Linked DNA regions of Homo sapiens: regions 1, 3, 4 and 5 are each linked to region 2. The links are contacts of gene promoters, found by promoter capture Hi-C in human tissues and cell types (Jung and others, 2019). All regions are on one chromosome and are shown on one strand. The core of a region is centred on a gene start or on the middle of the fragment in contact, and the rest is flanking DNA. Distances in the headings are between cores, read along the strand shown.

Evidence for each region. Contacts are between HindIII fragments. The study calls those that stand out against the background at their distance.
Region 1: a fragment that was not itself captured here is called in contact with the fragment with the promoter of INO80C in region 2 in 2 of the 25 tissues and cell types used here (IMR-90 fibroblasts and dorsolateral prefrontal cortex).
Region 3: a contact is called between a fragment that was not itself captured here and the fragment with the promoter of INO80C in region 2, in 1 of the 25 tissues and cell types used here (spleen).
Region 4: a fragment that was not itself captured here is called in contact with the fragment with the promoter of INO80C in region 2 in 1 of the 25 tissues and cell types used here (dorsolateral prefrontal cortex).
Region 5: a contact is called between a fragment that was not itself captured here and the fragment with the promoter of INO80C in region 2, in 2 of the 25 tissues and cell types used here (H1 embryonic stem cells and dorsolateral prefrontal cortex).

What each region holds. Positions count from the first base shown.
Region 1 is chr18:35,718,087-35,720,786 of GRCh38, forward strand. LOC105372064 (a long non-coding RNA gene) reads right to left here. Exons shown (of 5, transcript XR_935377.3): 2 at 1-1,663. Among named protein-coding and RNA genes, the nearest start is that of MIR3975, 130 kb to the left of the region's middle. The HindIII fragment of the contact is 4,490 bases long and covers 1-2,700 here.
Region 2 is chr18:35,496,665-35,499,364 of GRCh38, forward strand. It overlaps INO80C (INO80 complex subunit C), which reads right to left and starts at 1,296. Exons shown (of 5, transcript NM_194281.4): 1 at 1,055-1,296. The coding sequence starts at 1,210. RefSeq lists enhancers at 314-463, 734-853, 1,204-1,473. The HindIII fragment of the contact is 7,991 bases long and covers 1-2,700 here.
Region 3 is chr18:35,689,449-35,692,148 of GRCh38, forward strand. GALNT1 (polypeptide N-acetylgalactosaminyltransferase 1) reads left to right here. Exons shown (of 12, transcript NM_020474.4): 8 at 1,564-1,744. LOC105372064 (a long non-coding RNA gene) reads right to left here. Exons shown (of 5, transcript XR_935377.3): 5 at 628-995. Among named protein-coding and RNA genes, the nearest start is that of MIR3975, 99 kb to the left of the region's middle. The HindIII fragment of the contact is 3,097 bases long and covers 1-2,700 here.
Region 4 is chr18:35,263,083-35,265,782 of GRCh38, forward strand. It overlaps ZSCAN30 (zinc finger and SCAN domain containing 30), which reads right to left. Exons shown (of 4, transcript NM_001112734.4): 2 at 863-1,373; 3 at 431-575. The coding sequence starts at 1,270. Among named protein-coding and RNA genes, the nearest start is that of ZNF397, 23 kb to the left of the region's middle. The HindIII fragment of the contact is 4,751 bases long and covers 1-2,700 here.
Region 5 is chr18:35,664,217-35,666,916 of GRCh38, forward strand. All of the region lies in intron 3 of GALNT1 (polypeptide N-acetylgalactosaminyltransferase 1), which reads left to right. LOC105372065 (a long non-coding RNA gene) reads right to left here. Exons shown (of 2, transcript XR_935378.4): 2 at 2,407-2,700. Among named protein-coding and RNA genes, the nearest start is that of MIR3975, 74 kb to the left of the region's middle. The HindIII fragment of the contact is 5,015 bases long and covers 1-2,700 here.

The sequences.
Region 1 (2,700 bases), core at 107-2,606, 220 kb after region 2:
TGTTACAGGGTTCAGTGGTATTTGATGATACTATTGTAATTGTTTGGGGGCATCACAGACTACACCCGTATGAGAGGATGAACTTAAATGATAAATTGTGTGTGTGTGCATGCATGTGTGCGTGCATGTGGACTGTTACACTCATTGGTCCTTCTGCTGTCTCTCTCCCTCTCCTCAGCCCTCTTTATTCCCTGGGACACAGAAATTTTTAAATAAGGCCAATTAATAATCCTACATTGGTCTCTTACGTGTTAGAGTGAAAAGAAGATTCACATATCTCTCATTTTAAATTGAAAGCTAGAAATGATTAAGCTTAGTGAGGAAGCCATGTTGAAAGCTGAGATAGTCCAAAAACTAGGCCTCTTGCACCAGTTAGCCAAGTTGTGAATGCAAAAGAAAAGTGCCTGGAGGATATTTAAAATGCTGCTCCAGTGAACACACAAACGATAGGAAAGCAAAATAGCCTTATTGCTGATATGGAGAAAGTTTTAATGGTCTGGATAGAAGATCAAACCAACTGCAACATTTCCTTAAGCAAAATCCTAATTCAGAACACAGCCATAGCTGTCTCCAATTCTATGAAGACAGAGCAGAGAGGAAGCTGTGGAAGTAAAGTTTGAAAATAAGAGGTTGTTCATGAGGTATAAGGAAAGAAGACATCTCCATAACATAAAAGTGTAAGGTGAAACATCAAGTGCGAATACAGAAGCTGCAGCAAGTTATCCAGAAAATCTAAGATCATTGAAGAAGGTGGCTACACTAAACAATAGATTTTCAATATAGACAAAAGAGCCTTCTGTTGATTTTAGGCATCTAGCCTAAAATGGAAGAAGATGCCATCTAGGACTTTAATGGGTAGAGAGGAGAAGTTGATACCTGTCTTCAAAGTAAAGACTGACTCTTTTGTTAGGGGCTGTTGCAGCTGGTGACATTAAGTTGAAGCCAATGCTCATTCACCATTCCAGAAATCCTTGTGCCCTTAAGAATTATGCTAAATCTACTCTGACTGTGTTCTACAAGTAGAACAACAAAGCCTGGATGACAGCATATCTGTTTATAGCATGGTTTACTAAATATTTTAAGCCCACTGTTGAGACCTACTGCTCAGAAAAAAAGATTCCTTTCAAAACATTACTGCTCATTGACAGTGCACCTAGTTACCCAAGAGCTCTGATGGAGATGTAAAACAAGATTAATATTTTCATGCCTGCTAACACAGCATTCATTCTGCAGCCCATGACCAAGGATTAATTCAGACTTTCAAGTCTTATTATTTAAGAAATAAGATTTAATAAGGCTATAGCTGTCATGGATAGTGATTTCTCTGATAGACCTGGGCAAAGTAAATTGAAAACCTTCTGAAAAGGATCCACCATTCTAAATTCCATTAAGAACATTCATGATTCATGAGAGGGGGTCAAATACCAACACGAACAGGAGTTTGGAAGAAGTTGATTCCAACCTTCATGGGTGACTTTGAGGGATCCAAAACTTCAGTAGAGGAAATACCTGCAGATGTAGAAATAGCAAGAGAACTAGAATTATCCTGAAGATGTGTCTGAATACTTCAATCTCATCATAAAACTTGAATTGATGAAGAGTTGCTTCTTATGGATGAGCAAAGAAAATGTTTTCTTGAGATGAAATCCTCGTGGTGAAAATGCTGTGAACATAGTAGAAATGACAACAAAAGATTTGTAATATTCCATAAAGTTAGTTGATAAAGCAGAGGGAAGGTTTAAGAAAACCCCAATTTTGAAAGAACTTCTGCTGTGGGTAAGATGCTATCATATAGCATCAGAAAAATCTTCTGTGAAAGGAAGGCTCAATCAATGTAGCAAATTTCATTGTCTTATTTTAAGAAATTTCTACAACCACCCAACCTTCAGCAACCACCACCTTGAACAGTCAACAGCCATCAACATTGAGGCAAGACTCTCCACTAACAAAAAGATTGGGACTCATTAAAGACTCAGGTGAACATTAGCATTTTTTGGCAGTAAAGTATTTTTAATTAAGAATATACATTGTTTTGTTTTTAGACATAATGGTATTGCACACTTAGGCTACAGTATAGTGTAAACATAACTTTTATATGCACTGGGAAACAAAAAATTGTGTGACTCACTTTATTAATGCAATATTCACTTTACTGCTGTTGTGTGGAACTGAACCTGCAATATCTCTGAGGTGTGCCTGTAGATGCAAATAGCCTCTACAGGATACTAGTAAACCAAATGCAGCAGCATATTAAAAGGATTATACACCATGATGAAGTGGTATTTATCCTATGGATGCAAAGTTGTTTTAACATTTGAAAATCAATCCATGTGATACACCATGTTAATAGAATAAAGAACAAAAGCCACATGATCATCTTAATAAAGAACAGGAAATCCAACATGCTTTTACGGTTAAAACAAACAAAACCGGGACTAAAAGGGAATGTCCTCGATTTGATAATGGGCCCCAATGAAAAGTCCACAGCTATCATCATATTTAATGGTGAAAGACTGGATGCTTTTCCCCTAAGATCAGGAACATGACAAGGATGTCTATTCTTGCCACATCTATTCAACATTGTACTGAAAGTTCTAGCCAGAACAACTAGTCAAGAAAATGCACCCAGATTGAAGAGGAAGAAATAAAACTGTTTTTGCAGATGACATCATTTTGTATCTAGAAAATTTCAGGGAACCC
Region 2 (2,700 bases), core at 46-2,545:
GCTCTTGTAGTTGGGACTAAAGGCGTGCACCATCACGCCCAGCTATTTGTAAATTTGGATGGGGGTTGGGGAGCAGGTCTCGAACTCCTGTCCTCAAGCAATCCTCTCACCTTGGCCTCTCAAAGTGCTGGGATACAGGCGTGAGACAGGATTCTTGAAGATCTGTGGTTCAGCCAGTATTCTTGAAAATTTGTGCATTGTACTCTGTGTAAATCTTACTATAGCAAAGTATTTAATATTAAAAGGTTAAAATAAAAAGCACTACCAATCACCTACAGAAGAAGGAACAAGATTTCTAGAACAGCCACTGACTGACTGGGTGAACGGTGGTGTCACACCATATGCTGAGGAGCACAAAGTAACACACTCTATCTCTGCTTTTTTGCTTTGAATAAAATGCAGGAGCCAGAGAAAACACTAATCAAGCCACTCCCTGCTGAAAATTCATTGCTGGAATTACGGAACCTAGATTGTTCAGAGGCCCTGACGTCTGAGCCAGGCGCTGAGCTCAGTGCCTTTACACTCATTACTTCATAACCTTAACAAGCCCATGAGTTAAGACCAAACCTGCCTTTGGATTGGGAAACCCAGGGTCAAAAAAGCACTTTTCTCAGGATGAGAGAAAGCATACTTATCAATACATCTTGTATTCATCCATGCAGGACATTACAGCGCTATGCGCCTCAAAGACACTGGGTAGATGTCTGCAGAATGGACGAGGGGAAGACACGCAAATTTCTGAATGACTGACACTCATTAGTCCTGAACCTCATGCTAAAGGCGACCTCGAGGGGAAGAGGCAGTCCTTCTATTAATACTAAGTCAGTAATAACCTCCCTACTTCTTCTTCTCTCCTTACAACACAAGGCGTTGTAAGCCCATGTGTCCAAACGAAGGGAAAGAGTAGTCATTCACTCCGCGGGGCAGCGTCTTTCAACCCCAACGGAGACCGCACGCGCAGCGCCCCACATTACGCACGCGCCCTGGCTCGGCTCCGCCCCGCCAAGTCCCGTTTCGCGACGCGCACGCGCAGCCTGGGAGCGCGACTGCGTACCTGCGCAAAGCTGGAAGCGGACGCTTTTTTCTTCTTACTGGCGCCATAGCCCCCGCCGCTGCTGCCATTGTGGGAAGGGCTGGCCGGCCTCTTCTTGCTGTTCCGGACTATTCCGGGAGTGGAAGTGGTGGCCACAATTGGAATTTGCGCCGCCATCGCACTCCGAGTCTTCCCCTGGTCCCCCCACCTTTTTCCCAGCGCGGGCCTTGGAACTTCCTTTCCGCTGTTACTTCCGTCTTGATGCTTGAAAACCCGGCCTGGACTCCAAGCTGTAGCTGGCTTCTCTCGGTGCAATCTAAAAGGCGGAGCTCGGAGTAGCCTGTGCCGTCGGGACGGGAAGATGTCAGCGGGCGTTGTCCTGCCACTCGGGCGCTCTGGGCGTGGGCCTTGGGTGGGGCACGTGCCTGGAAATCCCCATTGATAGAGGAATAGAAAATCTCCCAATCTTTTTAAGTAACTACGTTTTAAAAAATTAATGAGCGTGTTGTCTTTTCTCATATAGAAGAGTGATTACTTTTGATGTCTGTAAGCCTAAAGCTGGGGTCGTTCTCAGTAGACCGCCAAGCTACTGGCTTCTCCCTCTATCCCTCCCTGCCTTCCCACGCGGAAAAGGTTTGTATATAAATAGCGCCCAAATGGACATGAAGGGTAGAGTGGTTCTTAATCTCTCCCTTTTTTTTTTTCTTTTATTTGAGACGGAGTTTCGCTCTTGTTGTCCAGGCTGGAGTGCAATGGCGCGATCTCGGCTCACTGCAAACTCCGCCTCCCGGGTTCAAGCGATTCTCCTGCCTCAGCCTCCCGAGTAGCTGGGATCACAGGCATGTGCCACCATGCCCGGCTAATTTTGTATTTTTAGTAGAGACGGGGTTTCTCCATGTTGGTCAGGCTGGTCTCGAGCTCCCGACCTCAGGTGATCTGCCCGCCTCGGCCTCCCTAAGTGCTGGGATTACAGGCGTAAGCCACCACGCCCGGCCGGTTCTTAATCTCTTAGGATTCACAGACTCTTGAGCATGGAATCTGTGCTTCCTATCCCTGCCGCACACCCCCACCTCCCCACCACCCCATTAAATGTATACAGACACAGACAAAATTTTACAGATTTCAGGGAGGTCACAGATCTACTAAAACCTATTTAGGAACCTGAGTCCCCCTACCCGCCTTGTTCTTTGCCTCATTCTACCCTATATTTTTACAGAACCTTTGCGACATCATATAACTAAATGATTTATAATCGGATGGTTAATGTCTTTTTTGGCTCCTGCTAGAATGTAATCTGTATGAGGGAAGGGTCAGTTATGTCTTGTTAACTTATCAGTCCCCCCAATCACAGTACCTTGCAAGTCATTGGTGCATTATAAGTATTTTTAATGATGTATTTAACGAATGAACTAACTCCCTGCAGTGATTGGTGGAAGCTACTATGTTTGAATACAGGAAGTTGATGTATATGAGTCTTGATATTTGAAATAAACAGGCTGCACAATGACTTAGAGGTGAGAGAGAAGGAGCAGTTAGGGAAACTTGCAATATTGTTACTGACATATTTTTTCCTTTAGAGAAAGGAATAAGCCTACCAGTGTTGAAATGTTCTTTCCCACACCCCATCTCCATCCCTATCCTCATCTAAAGCTAGTCTTTTCCTCATT
Region 3 (2,700 bases), core at 97-2,596, 190 kb after region 2:
TTCATTATAAACTATTGAAGCAAATAATTTAGTTACCTTTGAAGTTCAGCTATAAAACTTACACAAGATTCCCTAGTTGTTTTTAATTTTTATTATTTTCAAGGAAGTAATTTAAGCTCTAAAAGCTAATATATAGTTTGGATATGCTACTTTGCTGCTTTACTCTCAAAAACATAAATTTCACATTTAAACATAAATTTCACATTTTGTAATATGCTTTTTATTTTAGTGTGAAAATTTTTTTTATATAAAACCTAGTCACTTTACCAGCTTTATATTTTTCAATAAAAATGCGAAAGAATTCTAAAATGACTCTAAATTAATTTAACCCAGTCTACATATAAAGTCTTTGCATTTCATGTTCACTAGAATCAACATATCGTTTAAATGGCATTGCATATTTTTGCAAATAACCAACTTTAGACACATAGCTTATTATAGTGGAAATCACACTGACGTGTACTGTAATCTGAACCAGCGAGCTCACTTTGTTCCCAGTGAATCGCTTTGCCTTCTTGTCAAAGAGAGGGTTGGACTCAATATCACCTTGGAGATCCTATCCAGCTCTAACACTTATAATCCTGGGAAAACTTGAAGGTAGGAACACTGAATATTTAACAAAATCAGAACTTTCCAAAATGTTATTTTAATTATAAAGAGTTATGAGATTTTTAACTTGGTGGGGGGAATGTATTTTGAAAGAAACAGAAGGATTTCATTAAATTAAGGATGTAAGCCCATACTTGATCATCTTTCTTCTGCCCCTTTTTTTGTTTTTATTGTTCTAACAAAGACAACAAAACATGCTTTTACTGTCTCACTGAAGAACTTACAATGGATCTAGTTGAGATTCCTAGGTTCTGTTTCATGTACAAGCCGTGACGCAGGTTTGGAGAGGGGTGAACAGATGAGCATCTGGCTGGTTACTCCATGGTCAGGTTTTGTTTGGTGGTTGTTTTTAACCATGAGCCACATTAATAAATACATTATACATTCTGCACACACAAAACATAAAATTTAAACATTTTATGAAACAGTATGTCCTTGTTAACAAGTACAGGTTGCAATTCATCAATTTGAATTTATGATTCTCTTAGGTATAATGGCCTGCAGTTAGAAAAATACTGCTCTAGATCCCATATCTTTTCTGTATTTAGCCTTTAACCTATGTTTTCTTTATTTTAATCTTCAACTTTTGGTTTGATCAGAACCCAAATTAGAGAAATGTTTCTCTTGAGGAAGCACTGGCTTTGTAACCTAACCATACAGCCGGAGCCCATCATGTGCCCCTGATTTTGCGAAATTCCAACTGTGGAACCCAATAGATGTCAATACTTTTTTAAAAACTATCAATGTCATATATGGTCTTTGCTGTTATTTTCAGATTTGGTAGTATGGAGGTACTTTGGAAGCTTTTTACCAGTAACTACAATATGTTCCATTTAAGTTTAAACAAAAGCCAAACCCCTATTTAATTGAAAAGAAAAATACTATGGGAAAACTAAGGTGAACATTTCCTGATTACTCAGCTACATGTTACATGGTCATCTCTGCTGTTTTCAGATTTGGCAGTGTGGAGGAACTTTGGAAATTGTTACATGCTCACATGTTGGACATGTGTTTCGGAAAGCTACACCTTACACGTTTCCAGGAGGCACAGGGCAGATTATCAATAAAAATAACAGACGACTTGCAGAAGTGTGGATGGATGAATTCAAGAATTTCTTCTATATAATTTCTCCAGGTTAGCGTTGTTTTGCATTAGAAATACAAGGCTGTACCTTTGTTGACCCTGATCCTGGAGGAGAAGTAAGAAGGTTAGAAGTGAAGCTTTGAGCAGAGGTGAACACCTGCCTCATAAGGTCATTGTAAGGAATGAATGAAATCACACACAGTATAGAAAGTGCTTGGCAGAATGCCTAGAATAATATATAATTAACAGTAATAAATTATCCAGGTCAGTGTTGCTAGCCCAGGTTTTGCAGATGTTCTATTTTTTTTAAAACCTAACTGCAACATTTAGTATTTATTCCTGTGAAGTTTCATCTTGTTAAATTTTCAGCCATTTTTCTAGCTTATATGACTTTTTCTTGATTCTTGGAGTTTTCATTCAACATAACAAAACCACTGTTTTTGCAGTGGGTCATGAACGTTCTCTATAAGCAGGCCCTCAATGCTGTCATAGGAGGCTTTCGTCAAGTATCACAAGGCCACTGAGAGCCCAAAACGTGCCACAGGGCCTTCTTTCCGGAAACTTTGCTATTCAGAGTTTTGTAGGAACAGTTGTTCCATCAGCTATAAGTCGGCCTGACATTGTTACTAGTCCATCCTTATTTTTTAGTTACTGCAAGACTGTCAAGTGGCAGGGTGCACAGTTCAGTGAGTTGTGTGAGAGAAGCCTGACTGCAAACAATTGCTCTGTTTAATATTTGAGCAAAATAGACCTTGATTTTTTTGTTTGTGCCTTAACATATATTGAAGTTTACTGATCCCATATCACTTATATTTCATTCTCACATAAATGTCATTTTTCTCTGAAAAATTAAAACACATTTTAATGTATTTTCCTTGCTTTATACTTTTGGTGGATTCATGGTGTCTCCACTTGTATAGTCACATATCACCCAGCTGATACCACTGTTCTGATTCATCTGGCTTATTAGATTCAATATATAAACATGTGTTACCTAAAACAACACT
Region 4 (2,700 bases), core at 53-2,552, 230 kb before region 2:
TATGGATATTTAGCCAGGCATGGTGGTGTACAACTGTAGTCCTAGCTACTCTGGAGGCTGAGGCAGGAGGATCACTTTAACCCAGGGGTTCAAGGCTGCTGCAGTGAGCTGTGGTTGCACCACTGCACTCCAACCTGGGTGATAGAGTGAGACCCCATCTAAAAAAAAAAAAAAGAAAAAAGAAAAAGAAAAAAAATAATTATGGGTATTAGAGAATTTTACTAAAGACTTTAATTCTTAACCCAAAGTTACAAATGATACTGGAATTTCAGATTCTAGGCAGAGCCTAAGGAAGAATATTTCTAGGCAAAGAAGCCTTTCCACAATACTTAGTGATAGCCACAAGTGGCTGTCGTTAAGAAAATGAACCGTGCCACAGTTGATAGCTCTCACCTCCATCCTCAACCCCACATGGACTGGGGCTTCTCACCTCTCTCCTGGAAAGCCTGGGACTCCTGAGTCTCAGTCTTGCACTGGTTCTCTAAGGGCTGCACCGGGCTATTCAGAGACAGAGACTTCAGTGCTCCTGTGGATGTCATTTCCTGCCAGAACATTTCTTGGCCATGAGTTGTGTCCTAGGAGTAATCAAGTACCAGCACTATCATTCTGAGGATACACAAGCAGAAAACTCCTAGAGCAACAGGGCAGGAACAGAAGAATCAAAAACTCATTCAAATGATTAGAGAGAAAAAAAACAGGACCTTAAGAGCCCTAGTGACTTGAACCCAATGAGTGAATAATTAATAACCCAAAAGAAAGAAACTGTATAATTCTCTGAGAGCTGAGTCAATGCCCCAGTCATAATTATGGCTTCCCCATTAACTTACAATAGATCAAACAAACAAAAATGTTTACTTCTTACCTGTTGCCTTGGCTCCTCCAGTTCTTTTTCCAGCTCCTCCAGCATAGTCACAGCTTCCTCTCCATTCTCTGGCCGATGCTCTCGCAGCCAAGCTTGCAGCTCCTCAGGAAGGATGGCCAGGAACTGCTCCAACATCAGCAGCTCCAGGATCTGCTCCTTGGAGTGCACCTCCGGCCTCAACCACTGACAGCAAAGCTCTCGCAGCCGGCTCAGAGCCTCCCGAGGGCCAGTGGAGTCAGAGTAACTAAACTGCCTGAACTTCTGCCGGAATACCTCTTGGCTCCAGGGGTTTTCCTGAAGGCCAAAGTCCTGGTCCAAAACATAATTTTCTTCTTCAACCTTGACAACTAGAAGTCCTTCCTGTTCTTCTGGAGCATGGTAGGCCAAGACTGTGGCCTCTCCTGACATTCTGGGCAGAGACAGTCTGAAAAGGCTGCCCAGGTGAGGCAGGGAGGAGATGGAGATTTGCGTCTGAGAGATTCCTTCTGAATTCCAACTCCCCAGGACGCTCCTGAGGGTGGACAATGCTCATGTTACACAGGGAAAATAATGTACTTGGAATATAAATACAGGTTTTTGAAGCCCAGTTGCCAGGGAGCATAGCATTGTAAAGAAAACTGACTAACAGGGCACTTCCACATAAATGATACATTTATAGATGACTCAGGATTTTTTTAGGATGTGAAAGAAAAATGTTAGTATGGCTGAAATCAATTTGGCCTTTAGTAATACTGTTAGGAACAACATTAGGGATAATAAAATAGTGCTTGTAGATTATAGAGAGCAAGAAAAGCACTATAGTATATGATTACATCTCAGAAATAACCACCATTTTATTGATCACTAGCTTGATACTTAACATAAATTTTATATGCTTTTCCTAACAACTCTATAAGGACAATCAAAATTATGCCCATTTTTGCCAGGCACGGTGGCTCACGCCTGTAATCCTAGCACTTTGGGAGGCCGAGGCGGGAGGATCACGAGGTCAGAAGATCGAGACCATCCTGGCTAACATGGTGAAACCCCATCTCTACTAAAAATACAAAAAATTAGCCGGGCGTGGTGGCGGGCGCCTATAGTCCCAGCTACTTGGGAGGCTGAGGCAGGAGAATGGCATGAACCCGGGAGGGGGAGCTTGCAGTGAGCCAAGATGGCGCCACTGCACTCCAGCCTGGGCAACAGAGACTCCGCCTCAGAAAAAAAAAAAAAAATTACGCCCATTTTCCTAACGAGGCTACTAAGTCATAAGTTGACCAAAGACAGCCAGGGAGCAGCAGAACTGGGCTCTGCAACCAAAGTCTTTAGCTCTTTCTATTATGCTATGGGGCATCCCAAAAGAAGGGAACTCACACTTAATAAACACCTACTATGGGCCAAGCACTTTACAAATACTATTTTACTGGAGCTTGACAATAACACCATCAGGTATTATCATCTCAATTTTACAAATGAGGAAACTAAGGTTCTTAAAAGCCAAGTAATTTGTCCAAGGCTACAAACTGGTAAATAGCAAAGTCGAGACATGAACCCAGGCTGCAACTCTACAGTACTTGCTCTTTTTATTTCTTTTTATTACAGAATGGGTTGATGCCCAGGACAATCTTGGCTGATACTAAATCAGAAATGATGGTGAAAATGTTAGGAAGGGATCATGGAGAATGGGCAAGGTGAATGTAGAAACAAGGAAAAATTATTCTTGACTTTTAAGTCGCAAGGTTCTGAAACAGCACAAAGAAAAATGGATTCTTTCAACAAATACTTCAGCATTTACTCTGTGCTAGATAGCGTACCAAAGAGCAGTCTCAGAATTAAAAGATGTGTACCAAAGGACTCTT
Region 5 (2,700 bases), core at 87-2,586, 170 kb after region 2:
CATCACCCCTGAAAGTCTCCTTATGTTTTTTGTAGTCATTACTTACATCCCCAGAGGCAGCCGTTATATTGACCTCTCTAAACATAGATTAGTTTTGTCTCTTTTTGAACTTTTTATGATGGATCCACACCATTTTTTGTGCCTTTAAGATTCATATTGTTGCATGTATCAGAATTTTATTCTTTTCTACTGCAAATAGTGATTTGTAATATGAATATGCCATTGTTTATTTATACATTGATAGACCTTTGGATTATTTCTACTTTTTGACCCCTATAAATAAAGCTATTGTGACATTCTTGTTCATGTCTTTTGGAGGACTTAAGTGCCCATTACCGTATGCTATGTACTAGAGAAAGGAATAGGTTATGCATTTATATAGCATTAGCATGTGCTACCAAATATTTTCCCAAAATGTTTATACCAATTTACACTCCTATCAGCAATATATTAGTTAGATGTCTAGTTGCTCCATAAGAAGAAGGTAATACAAGGTACTAGAGTACCATAGGCCCAGTTAAAAGCAAGCAAACTATACAGAAAATAGGTAGAGTAAGTGAACATGTACATTCTGTGCTGAGGCCCCCTAAACTCCTTGCTCTCATTGATGCTGGCAGCCAAGCTTGCCTCCTCCAGAGAAGAGACTGGAAGATCTTTCTCATCAGAATTGGATAGGCCTAGAGAGAAGGGTAAGTACCTAGTGTGGTCCTGATAGTATATGAATGAAAAGTATGTGCTGAATTTCCAACAAATTGCACTTTAGTGCTGATTGACTTGGGAAAGTTTCCAACTTAATGGCACAGCCTGATCACCCTTATGGAAACTCATAGTCATTGAGTCCTACTCATGTGTTTAGGCCTCATATTCAGCCTCTTGGTCTTCCATTCTTAATAACAAATAGGTAAGCAAGGAATACTAGACATCTCAGGAAACCCTCAACAAACAGAGAAAAGCAACTTTGAGGAAACAAAAACTATTAAGGTAGAACACATAAAGAGAAATAACTAATAACCTCAACAAAATAGAGAATATATTACAACCATAAAATGAGAATAGGATATTATTCAAAAGATACACTGAGAGAACCAGAAAGAGCTTTTGAAAATAAAGAAAAATGCACCAAAGAGATGGACAACAGTAAAATTATATGAACATTGAAATAACAATCAAGAAATCCAATATTTTAATAATAGGAGTCTCAAAAAGAATTTTAAAAATAGGGAAGAGAAAATTTATCCACAAAATTTTCCATAACTGAACTGCACAAATTTTCAAATTGAAAGAGCCCACCAACTTTTTGGGACAATAGATGAAAATAGACTGTACTCCAAGACATTGTGACTTTCAGAACACTGAGGATTTCAACCCCCAGGGGGGAAAAAAGACCTTTTACAGGTTTCTTAAGAGGCGAAAGAAGGTCACAATCAAAAGGTTATTAATCAGAATGCCTTCAGACTTCTCAGCAACTCTAGAAACAAAGGAGCAAAATTCTAAAGGAAAATAATTTCCAATCTAAAATCTTATATTCAGCCAAACTTGCAATAAAGTGCACAGGTTAAATAAGGATATTTTTGGACATGCAAGATCTCAAAACATTGAACTCCCAAGCATCCATTCTCAGGAAGTTACTAGAGATAGGACGCTACCATTTAAAACCTTGGTTTTAAATAAACCAAGGACAAGAGAGACATAGAATGTAAAAAACAGGAGATTCAGCTTGTGTAAGAAATGGTGAGAATGACCAGAAGGTGATGAAGGGAGAGCCTGAGTGAGAGTTGCACAGGCAGAGGCGACCAGCCCAGATGGAGCCAGTGAGAAAATTCCAGAAGAGACTTCAAAAAGATACCATTGAAGTTACACCTGATATGGCTGAATGTCTAGAGTAGATTTAGACAATTGATAGGAAGTTTGGGATTGAAATACATAGAAAACCATAGTAAGAAAAAAATTAAATGAGCATTACCTTCAGGGAAAACTTTAAAAAAATTGTTCAGAGAAAACAAAAGTAATCATAGTTTACTACTACATGGCTTAGCCATGAATAAGTCATAATAAGGTAACTGTTGAATATTGTGCATGTAAAAATTAAACCAAGGAGATGAAGAGTATCTCTTTATCTGGCAAGTTGATTAAGTGGAGATCAGTCAAGAGAAGCTTAATTTGTAAAGATTTTTCACAAACCATTTGCTTTCCTGAAAATTTAAACATTGTTGAAGAAAACTATAGACTCTCCACAGTCTACAGTTAAAATGATGCCTGTATTATAAACAACCTTACATTTACTTCAAGAGCCTCAATCAACTATTATTGTTTCTGGTAGAATTGTTTTTGTCATTTTAATAACCCCCCTAAGTATATCACCACTCTTAACACATTTTATTAAATATTTATGTCTTTTTGTCTTTATGTGGTTTTTGAAGATACTTTTATTAATGAGTGCCTTTTAAGTGCATTGTAAGTCACCAGTTTTTGGACATTGAACAGCTTTATGATATTAGGAATAGTGTTGAAATGGTGTGATACAAATGCTTGTGCACCAAGTTTCACACTTGAAGACTCTTCAGACTTGACGAAGTCCACTTTTGTGAAAGCTGCCAATACACAGTCCTTCTGGCCAACTGCTGGGTCTCTGTGGGACTGGGCTGCCTAGGAGGTAGCGCAGAGTCACTACTACCACTGAGTAGCCTTTTTATATCTTCA